Linked DNA regions of Homo sapiens: region 2 is linked to region 1. The links are contacts of gene promoters, found by promoter capture Hi-C in human tissues and cell types (Jung and others, 2019). All regions are on one chromosome and are shown on one strand. Each heading gives the region's core, a stretch centred on a gene start or on the middle of the fragment in contact. The rest is flanking DNA. Distances are from core to core; before and after follow the strand shown.

Region 1 (5,562 bases), core at 957-3,456:
GCTCACCTGTAGTCCTGGCTACTTGGGAGGCTGAGGTGGGAGGATCACCTGAGCCCGGGAATATTTGGGCCTGGGAAAATGTTTATTACAGCATTACTTAAAATCAAAAAAATTAAAAGTAATGTAAATGTCAACAGAAAGGAGAGATTCGGTTATGTAAATAGTGGTAGCAAATGGACCATTTCAAATTTTGATTTGAAGACCTACGTTTAAAGAAACTTCTGACACTATTAAGTGAAAAAATTAATAGAATATAAAACACATATTTTAGTAATTTAAAAAATGGAGTGGGAAGGAGGAGGAAGGCTGAAAAGACATAACCTCAGGTGCTAAGAGTAGTCATATAGTAGTTTTACAGCGAGTAAAAGATTTACTTGTTTCCCCCCTCTGGTTCCATATTTTCTTTAATGTACTGATATTTTTACTATAAACACAATAAACGTAAAAAGTTTCCCTTTTGTAGAATGGTTCTGAATAGAAAGCATTCAACAAAAAAGATGAGCATTCATTCACTTTTCAAACACAACGGGAATCTACTACGTTCAGGCACAGAATTAACTTGAGGGGATAGGTTTTTGTCTTCATTCATTTATCCATTCTAATCTGGGCATTTACAATGTCGCAGGCACAGTTCTAGACGCTGGGACTACAGCTGTGAACAAAAGAAAGTCCTTACTTCTCCAATCGTTTTCATTCTACGGATCACGATTTCAATTATTTCAGCAACCATACAGTTATATGGTCTAGAACATTTCTAAACCTATCAGCCTCACGACAAAACACGGCTTCAAAGTTCTTTTTTTCCCTTGGACGCTAAGTGTTCTTAACAGCTTAAAAAGGGACCTCATATGGTTAATTCAGAGCATGACAATATTCCTTCTTCAAAGCTCAGGCAATGCCACCACCTCATATCTATAAAGTACATCACAGTTTAAAGCGGATTTCCCTCCACGTTCATTTTCAAAGCGAACCAATACACGGGGTAGGTACGTTTTCTGGTGCTCCACAGCCACCCATACCAACCTTTGACTTGGTTTGGAAATTCCCAAGGGTTAGGGCTCAGACAGGCAGAAGGCCAGCTCTACCTGCAGAGCTGACCTGGACAAGTGTCTCCGTGCGGAAGGATCCCCCCCGCCGCCCCGCCCCAGAAGGACCTGCAACCTCGACAGGGCAACCCGGGGACACCCCGCATCATCTAATGAACTTGGGGGAGATGACTCCGGGCATTTCACAACTTCCCACCGTCGCAACACTCACAACAGAGCCCCTGGGCGTTAACTCCCTTCTCTCGTTTTAAAAAAGTTACAAAGTAAAAACAGACACCACCAACGGCTTTCCCTAGACTGCAGGGCCGCAACCGGGCTAAGCTCGCCCAGGGCCAACAAACGCTGAGCTCTCCACCCGGGCCGGCAAGGCCTCCCGTAAAAGGAGCGGAGGCAGAGGGAGGGCCACGGGGGAGCCGGCCCTGCACTTCGAGGCCCGGGCCAGGGCCCGCCCGAGGCGTCCGGCCACCAGGTCACGGACATGGCGGGCACACGGGAGAGGGAAGCCAAGGCCGCAGGACCGGGACCGGGTGACAGGTTTATTGCCCTCAGTGAGCAAGTTGAGTTTCTCATCACCCTCCCGCCCCCAAGTCTACACGCGCATCCCTTCCTCGCCCCTTCGCGTACCTGACACACACACGCGCGAAATCCCGCGTAGTCCGAGCGCTCCCCGACCTGCAGAGGCCGGTCCCCGAGCTCGGACTCCTTTTCGCGCCGATCAAACAAGTACACCGTCCTGTGGCCGACGCCTCCGCCATCCTCCTCAGTCCCCACAGAGGCCCCACCAGGCCCGCCGCCGTCCGCCGCTGCCATATTGGGGAAAAGGAGAAAAGACAGCGACGCCTGCCGCCGCCGGGCTCAGGGCTGAGGTGCGCGCTCCGCGCGGCGCCTTCAGCTCCAGCTCCCGGGGCGGCTCGAGGCCTCGGCCCGGCGCGCTGCAGCTCCTCGTCAGCGGCGGCGGCCGAGCAGCGGCAGGCGCGAGGATCACCCGGGAACCGATTCAAACGCGCTCCTGCCCGTGCACCACGTCACTTCCGCGGCCCGCCACTCCTGAGGAGAAGGGGACGCGCGGCGCGCTCCTCACCGGGCCCGGGCCCAGCGCCTATCGCCGCCCACGCGAGCCTCACGGTGCGACCCGCGACCAGCGCCGCCGCCGGGACTGTGGCGCAGGAGGAAGAGCGGTGGCGGGTGGCGGGCGGCGGGCGACAGCGAGGGGCGGGGCGAATCCAGCAGGCCGCGCGGGCAGGGGCGGGGCTTCGCCGCGCGCGCGCCCGGGGCCCGCCCCCTCGGCCCTCGCGAAGTTGGAAGGAGGCTGAGTCTTTCGCGGCTGCCTGCGCCCTGCGGGTAGTCCTCAGAGGCCGAGGCGGGAGAGCAGGGCTCGGGGGCAGCGGGGGAATCTCCCGAAGAGCTGTGTTCTCTCTGTGGAAAGGGCCCCGCTGCCTTCCCGCCTCTCCAGGATCCCGACTGAGCTTGTAGGTGCCGCGCCGGCTGACTGAGCCCTCTCTGGCTGGGTCGCGTGGACGCGGCGGCGGGAAGCTTCAGGCCGGCGGTACTCGCCGGGCGCAGAGTCCACCAAAGCGAGCACGTGGGTCCCTCTGCCGAGAAAATAGGCGCTACGAGAGCCGGCGCCCCTTTTTCCTCCTCATTTCTTAGTAGTACTGGGTGGGCTCCAGCGTGGGCCCCCGAGGCAAAGCGGGTCCGTGAGAACGTCAGAAGGGCGCTCTGTGACGTCACAGCGTCCCCGCCCCCCGCACCCTCTGGGGGCCCTGGAGCGCCGACGGCATTCGGGGTACGGGGGTGACTCCAGCGCCCTAGTTTTAACGCTGCCTGCGCTTCGCGGTCTCCCACGTGCGTGTAAATTCTGAAAGAACCCACGCCACAGTTACTAGGGTTAAATTAGATGTTCGCAAAATTCTTAAGGCCTAATACGTTTTCAATCAAAGCCTTTAATCGTCGTTACCGGGCAGCGTTTCATTAACTATCCTCATCGTGGGCAGGTAGTGCCCTAACTCAACAAATAAAATGCCATTGTTAGAGGACTAGGTTTACTCTCCAGTTCTTAGAAATCGTGAATACTGTATACTTGAGAGTGGTATGTAAATTCAGAAACCCAAAGGTAGCAGATAGAGGGGTTTTTCAAATCTCAGAATATAAGCCTGGATAATAGTGCGTTTTCTGTTTTACTAGGTTTGCTAAAACCTTATATGGACAGACTTACAAAGTTAGTGTTATGTTAGAAACCTAGATTTGCTTGTGGATGTCAAGACGTTTCAAGATCGTGGGGAATGTGTGTATAAATTGACTACACATATACTAGAGGTAGACACCAACTAGAACGAAATTGTGAAGGCGTGTTTGGGGAACATACATTGTTTGGCTGGAAGTGAGGAGAACTGAGCGGTAGATGGTGGAAGATAAAATTGGAAAGACATAAACTGTGGCCAAATGCCGTTCATGTTCCTTAAGGTGGAGGTGGAGGAAAAGAAAACAAAAAAGTAACCCCCGATTCTAATGGAATTTCTTTGAAGTCTGATGTTTTATTTACCTTTCAAATTCATGCGAATGTCTCATTCTATTCCTTTATATAGTGGTATTTGAGTTAAATGACTCAAAGAAAAACACAAATTGTTTTTCTAATTCTTAGTTAATGGGTAAGATGAATTGCCTCTCTACTTCAGCAAATTGAGATTAGAGCTGGAGATTCGTCATCAGGGCAATTTCTCATTTCTTTGTAATACCAGATTATACAAGCACACCTCTTTCATGTCTTTAGAAGAGATTTCAGGATCATCTCTAAGAGATTTTTTTTTTAATGGTGCCAGAGAAGTGTACTGCAGTATTATGGGCAGCTCTTGATGGGAACATTGATGTCTTACCTTGTTGAGAGATCGAGTCTGAATCAGTTTCTTAATGGCAGTATGGCATCACTTTTGTTCTCAGAATATCAAACAATTTTTTCATCAAAGAAAGATGACGAGTTTGTTCTTTATTTAATTGTCATCACAAGTAAATAAAAGCGTTTGAAATGACCCACTTCCTTAATGAGTTCTCTTCAATTGACTCTTAGTTTTTGTTAATTAGCTATCTTACTACAGAGTAAAATATTTAAGTGGCCTTGTATCAGTTATTTATTGCTACATAACGAACTTCCCCAAAACTTAGTGGCCCCTGAAGAAGTTCCCCATTCCCTTCTTCCTTGCATGTAGCTCAAGTTTGAGTCAGGCAGGATTTGAGATGCCACAGACCCAGACCAGGTGCAGCTCAGAGATGGTGAACGAGATGGTGAACAATAGCTCTTCATGTCTGCAATTAAAAATGGCCTCCAGTAAAACTACAGTCGTCCTTTGGTATCCTTGGGAAATTGGTTTCTGGACCGGGACCCCCATGGATAGGAAAATCCAAGGCTGCTCAAGTCCCTCATATAAAAGAGCGAAGTATTTGCATATAACCTACATACATCCTAGATTACTTATAATACCTAATGCAATATAAATGCTATGTAAATGGTTGTTATACTGTATTGTTTTTCATTTGTATTTTTTTGTTTTATTGTGATTTTAAAATATGTTCTATCCTCGGTTGATAGAATCCAGGAATGCGGAACCCGAGGATACTGAGGGCCACTGTACATTGCAAAAAAATGGGACAAAAGACTTAGTGGAAAGGGTATAAAAGCTGATGAAGCAGAGCCTGAGGATTTTGTGGTGGAAAAAGTACTACACCAAGGTGTGGTGAATGGGAAGGTGGAATATTCCCTGAAGCGGAAAGGATTTACACTTGCTGACAATAATTGAGAACCTGAAGAAAACTTAGATTTTCCTGAGTTCATTGAACTATTTCTTAATCCTCAAAAAAACTGGTAAAGGAAAAGATAGTACAAAAAGAAAATCTTTATCCGAGAGTGAATCTGATGACAGCAAATGAAAGGGATGCTGCTGAAAAACCAGGAGACTTTGCCAGAACTCTTGATCCTAAGCAAAGAATTGGTGCCACAGACTGCAGTGAAGAATTAATGTTTCTAATGGAATGCAAAGACTCAGACGAGGCTGACTTGGTGCTGGCAAAGAGGCAAACGCAAAGGGGCAAACACGAAGTGTCCTCAAATTGCAAATTATTTTTATGAAGAGAGACTAACTTGGCATTCCTGTCCAGAAAATGAAACTCAAAAATTGTTGCACTGCAGTATACTGCCATATAGTGTGTGTGTGTGTAAAACCTAGGTCTTGATTTTCTTATTAGTGTGAAATACTCTATTTTTAAAAAAATAGAGATAGAGTCTCACTATGTTGCCCAGGTTGGTCTCAAACTCTGGGCTCAAGTGATCCTCCTGCCTTGGCTTCCCAAAAGTGCTGGGACTACAGACGTGAGCCACCCTGCCTGGCCAGCTATTTTCTAATGAAATCTATTTTCTACTGCAAAATCTTGTTTTGAAGTAGAATCAAAAGAGTTTTTGGGGTTTGTTTGTTTTGGGTATTTGTTGGGGTTTTTTTCATCAATAGCACTTGTTACTTTTGAACAA
Region 2 (5,470 bases), core at 2,098-4,597, 520 kb before region 1:
TTTTATTTTATTTTTAAAAATTCATTTTTTACAGTCATGGAGTCTTGCCATGTTACCCAGCTGGTCTCGAACTCCTGGCCTCAAACGATCCTCCTGCTTCAGCCTCCCAAAGTTCTGGGATTACAGGCATGAACTGCCACTGCTGACCTGCAGAATACTTTGTAATGAAAATTTTATAGAGATATGAGCAATACTTTTGATCCGAAGCCGAATTGAGTGTCACTGAGTCATTTGGTCAAACAGCACATGTCACAGCCGTTGGTATCACAGCGCTTTTCTTAGGCAAAGAGGAACCACTGAAAACCCTCCAGCACAAGAAAGAGCAGAGCCAGAGTGAGCTTGAGTCCAGTGTGAAATTACCTAAACCAATTATAGAAGAAGAGCATGCCAATTAACATGTTCTACCCTGTACTTCATCTAAACGGGGAATGCGGGAGATTAGAAGTGGCCAGTGGATTTCTTTTTCCAGGCCATCTCTGATCAGATAGTCCTGTCTGCTCGAGCCATGTTGAGACAGCTGTCTGAAGCTGCTGGCAGGAAATAGCACTGCATCAACTTGCAGGGTCTTCTGTGTTTGGAGAAGGTTATGTTGCTGCACCTGCCACACAGCTGCGATTCTTAAGCCAGTCCCACCCTCTCCATTTCACATCTGAGGGAACTGAGACTGTCAACTTACTTTCTTCGTGTGCATTTATTTAAAATCATCCAACTTTGGGAGGCTGAGGCAGGGGGATCGCTTGAGCCCAGGAATTTGAGACCAACTTGAGCAACATAGTGAGACCTCATCGCTATTTATTTAAAATAAAATCATCCATATCATGACATATATGCTTGTCAGAACTCTGTTCTCTCAGACAAAAAATTATGAAGCTACAATTAATCTATTGCATTACGTGCTAATTCTGTTCAACCAAATTTAACCAATTCTGAGCGCCTGCTGTTTGCCCATGACTCATTCTTCCTCAGGAGTAGGAATAGAAGTAAATGTGGATCAGGCCAGGCACAGTGGCTCATGGCTGTAATCCTAGCATTTTGGGAGGCCGAGGTGGGAGGATTGCTTGAGCCCAGGAGTTTAAGACCAGCATAGGCAACATAGCAAGAGCCTGTCTCTACAAAAAATAGAAAAAATTAGCTGAGTGTGGTGGTGCACACTTGTAGTCCCAGCTACTTGGTAGTCTGAGGTGGGAAGATTGCTCGAGCCTGGGAGGTGGAGGTTGCAGGGAGCTATAATCACACCATTGCACTCCAGCATGGGAGACAGAGCGAGACACTGTCTCAAAAAAAAAAAGTAAATGTGGATCAGACACAATCCCAACCTCAAAGGTTTGGCAACATAATAGAAGAGACACATATCCAACCATAATTTTGATAAATGTTATATTTAGTAACTTGAAGCAAGGAACCCTGATGCAGAGAGGCAGGAACGATTCATACTGTGTCATATTTTAGGGAAGAGTTTATTGAAGAAGTTGCATTTGATCTGAATCTTGAAGGATGAGTTCGGGTTCTGTTATATGGAGGAGAGTGTTTGTTTGTTTTAAGTGTAGAAAATGAATAACGTGCTTTAGGGACGGAGGGGTGTATGTGTATGTGAGAGAGAGAGCTGGGGAAAGGAAGGAGCTGACTGAAGCCAGTATTCTTCCTTCCTCTCCCTTTCCATCATGTTCCCTACTCCCAAACCTCCTTATGATCGTGTCCACAAGTCTGAAGAAATGAAATGCAGACAGAACAATTGGAAAATGGAAGCATCATGTGGGTCAGCAGCCAGGCTGCCGGTTCAAATCCCTCCTCTGCTGTTCCTGGCTGTGTGACTGGGCAAGTTCCTGAAACCCCCATGCCTTGGTTTCTTCATCTGGAAAATGAGGTTAAAAACAGCACTATCTCATACGGTGGTTGTGAGAACTGAACTTACCAATGTATGCATAAAGCGCTTAGAGCATTGCCTGGCTCATAGTCAATTCTCTGTGTCAGCTATGTTAATCAGGGTTATTGACGTCATCTGTGCGTGCGAAGTGGGCTGTCTGAAAGGGAAACAAGTGAAACCCAGTTCCTCTTTTGGGCAGAAAATGGTTTAAGTAGAAAAGCCTGGTCCAGCACCATAGCCACTGGCTACTGAGAACATGAGGAAGTGGTGAAGAATCCAGGCGCCACGTACAGACCCAGAAGACAGGGTCCCAGGGAGAGGCCCGCCTGCGTAGTCCACTCTCCGAGGGCTGTGAGGCTTAACCAGATATGGAACAGTCAGAAAAAGGGAGGCTTTCAGCTCTTACTTGTCAGAAGTTTCCTTTCATGATTTATATTATAAATTCTTCCAAGGCAAGAGCCATGTTTGTTTATGACATTGAATAAAACACTTAAATATAATGATCGTTCAATACAATGATATTGCAGGCCGAGCATAGTGGCTCACACCTGTAATCCCAGCACTTTGGGAGGTCAAGGCAGGTGGATGACCTGAGGTCAGGGGTTCGAGATCAGCCTGACCAACATGGTGAAACCCCATCTGTACTAAAAATACAAAAAACTAGCCAGGCGTAGTGGCCGGTGCCTGTAATCCCAGCTACTGGGGAGGCTGAGGCAGGAGAATCACTTGAACCCGGGAGGTGGAGTTTGCAGTGAGCCAAGATGATGCCATTGCACTCCAGCCTGGGCAACAAGAGTGAAACTCTGTCTCAAATAATAATAATAATAATAATAATAATAATAATAATAATAATGATATTGCTTCTAACAACATGCAAGAATGTTAGCAGGAAGAATGTTTTGCTCTCATCCTACACAGATAGCCAGCAATAAAACCCCCAACAGAAAGCCTTCCTCTCTGTTACATCAATAGTGGTCAACTTTTTAAAAAGCTTATTTATGTATTTATTTGTTTTATTTATTTTTAAAAAGCTTATTTGTTTGTTTGTTTTATTTATTTTAAGACACGGTCTCACTCTGTTGCCCAGGCTGGAGTGCAGTGGTGCGATCATAGCTCACTGCAGCCTCAGCCTCTCAGGCTCAAGCTATTCTCCCACTGCAGCCTCCAAAGTAGTTGGGACTACAGGTTTACACTCAGCTAATTTTTTGTAGTTTTTGTAGATTCAGGGTCTTGCTTATTGCCCAGGCTGGTCACAAACTCCTGGCCTCAAGTGATTCTTCCACTTCAGCCTCCCAAAGTGCTGGGATTACAGGAATTACATGCATAAGCCACCATGCCTGGCCTAAAACCTTTTAAATTATAATATAACATGCACACAAAAAGTGTGCATATTATATACTGCAAATTTTTTTTTTTCGAGATGGAGTCTCACTCCGTCGCCCAGGCTGGAGTGCAGTGGCACAATCTCAGCTCACTGCAACCTCCGCCTCCTGGGTTCAAACAATTCTTGTGCCTGAGCCTCCTGAGTAGCTGGGATTACAGGTGTGTGCTACCATGCCTGGCTAATTTTTAGTATTACTAGTAGAGATGGTATTTCACCACGTTGGCCAGGCTGGTCTCAAACTCCTGACCTCAAGTGATTTGCCCGCCTCGGCTTCCCAAAGACTGCACACTTTTACAAATGAATTGCTTTAGTGAATTTTTGTAGATTGCACACACCCATGTAACTGACACCCAAATCAATAAACATTATTGACACCCAAGAAGCCTCCTTCTTGCGTCCCAACACACTACTGATTTCTAGTAGCATTAATTAGTTTTTTGTTTTTGTATTCTATATAAAAGCAATCATTCTGCTGTGCACTGTTTTGTAACTGGCTTTTTTCGGTAACTATGTTACATGATATTCAGCCATATTGCTGTGAATCGTCAACATTTTTCATGTAAGTTTATAGAGGAGGGGAAAGCACTTCATCAAGAAGTGTGATGTATTGCTGGTGCACTTCACGTAAGCCAATATGATTTACATTTATTTAATCGATGCTGCTGCTACCCTCAGTGCCCTGTTTACAGATGTTCCTGCAAGAACAAGAATTGTGTGTGTGTTTAATCATGAAGTTGTTTACACTTCAACTTACTTCATTTTGTTTCCATTCTGTTATAGGTATAAAAACCAGGTGCCAATAAATGTCCATGCAAACCCTGGAAAGTATATTATTGAGAGTCGATATGGGATGCACACTCTGGAGATTAATGGGTAAGAGAACATTAGTGTCCATGTGTTGCTCACCATTGCTCAGGGAGGCTTCTCACCCCTGCAGTTAACAGCCACTCTCCCCACTTCATCCCAATGCTGTGTGATCACACTGAGGGACATTCGTATACGGTGCTTCTCTGGGTGCACACCTGAAAGTGATATGTATGACTGATCCTTACCATACCCACACTACCTCCCAAAGTGATTTTATATTTGGATTCGGTCAAAGATGATGAGAAAAAAACCAATTTGCATGTTTTTATTTATCTTTTTATATACTTGGGAATTTTTCTTAGATGTAAGTAAGAAAAATATGTTGCATAAAGAGGCATTTATATTCAGTAATCATTTCAGAGTCCCAAATCAATATCATCATCACAGTCTCTTGTTTTTAATAACTAAAGGCCATGGAGATCCGGGTAGGTGGCATTGAATGTGGGCTAAACTTGGAGATAATGTTCTTTCCTTCAGCTTGCCAGGAACCATGGGAAAGTATGCACTCTGTCAATCTGTGTATGTGAAGCAGGCTAGACATTGAGATGTTTGAGCTTAAAGTAAAATCCAAAGCAAAATTTGAAAACGAAACCTACATCAAAATTCCTAAGTTCCCAAATGTTTATTTTGCCTCCCAAGATGATTTTGAAATTCAAACCTAATTAGGTCAATGAAAAGCTAAACAAGTTCCCAGAATTTTCAGTTTAGATAAAACCATGATGTGCCTAAGTGTCAAGGTGAAATTTATACCATTCATTCTCAGGAGACTTATAGCCTTCTCCTCAGATCAGAGGAGTTGGCCAAATGATGCTAGGACCCTGTGCCATTTGCCAGGCACTGACCCTGACCCAAAGTCAGGTCAGTTCTGCCAGTGGGTGGTTCTGCTAAAGCAACAGTGAGCTATGTGGTTACTTTCAAAATTAAGTAGTTATGAGAAGGGCAACTGTGTTTGCCTTGCTGGGGTTCTATTGATGTCTGTAAAATTTCAGCAAGAAAAAAAATTTACACAAATGAAACTAAACCCCGAGAAACAATGAAGAACACGAGAAACTGGTAATGATAAGACATAAAACAACCTGCTTTGAAACCTTAGCCTCTTCATCTCTCCATGAAACCATTCTCTCCCTAATGGTCCATTTTTATAAGAATTCCAGTTTCTGTATTATAACTTAGAAGAACATCCAAATGGCGCTTCTTGTGTGCTGTGAGCTGAAATTCCAAGTATGGCCTGAACCTTAGTGGAAATGAAGTGTAAATAACTTAGATGAGCTTTGAAGCTAGAACACATAGACCAACGTGGCTCAGGGAGGTTGTGGGAATCTACACGGAGGGACTGCTTCTTTCTCTTCCCTATT

What was found. The method cuts DNA at HindIII sites, captures the fragments that hold promoters and counts their contacts. A contact is called where the count stands out against the background at its distance.
Region 2: a fragment that was not itself captured here is called in contact with the fragment with the promoter of SMCHD1 in region 1 in 1 of the 25 tissues and cell types used here (lymphoblastoid cells).

What each region holds. Positions count from the first base shown.
Region 1 is chr18:2,652,370-2,657,931 of GRCh38, reverse strand. It overlaps SMCHD1 (structural maintenance of chromosomes flexible hinge domain containing 1), which reads right to left and starts at 2,206. Exons shown (of 48, transcript NM_015295.3): 1 at 1,671-2,206. The coding sequence starts at 1,856. It also overlaps the pseudogene CBX3P2. RefSeq lists silencers at 1,504-1,683, 1,914-2,363 and an enhancer at 3,398-4,027. The HindIII fragment of the contact is 8,444 bases long and covers 1-4,076 here.
Region 2 is chr18:3,174,693-3,180,162 of GRCh38, reverse strand. MYOM1 (myomesin 1) reads left to right here. Exons shown (of 38, transcript NM_003803.4): 6 at 4,029-4,121. Among named protein-coding and RNA genes, the nearest start is that of MYOM1, 43 kb to the left of the region's middle. RefSeq lists enhancers at 1,834-2,223, 2,244-2,363. The HindIII fragment of the contact is 4,313 bases long and covers 1,191-5,470 here.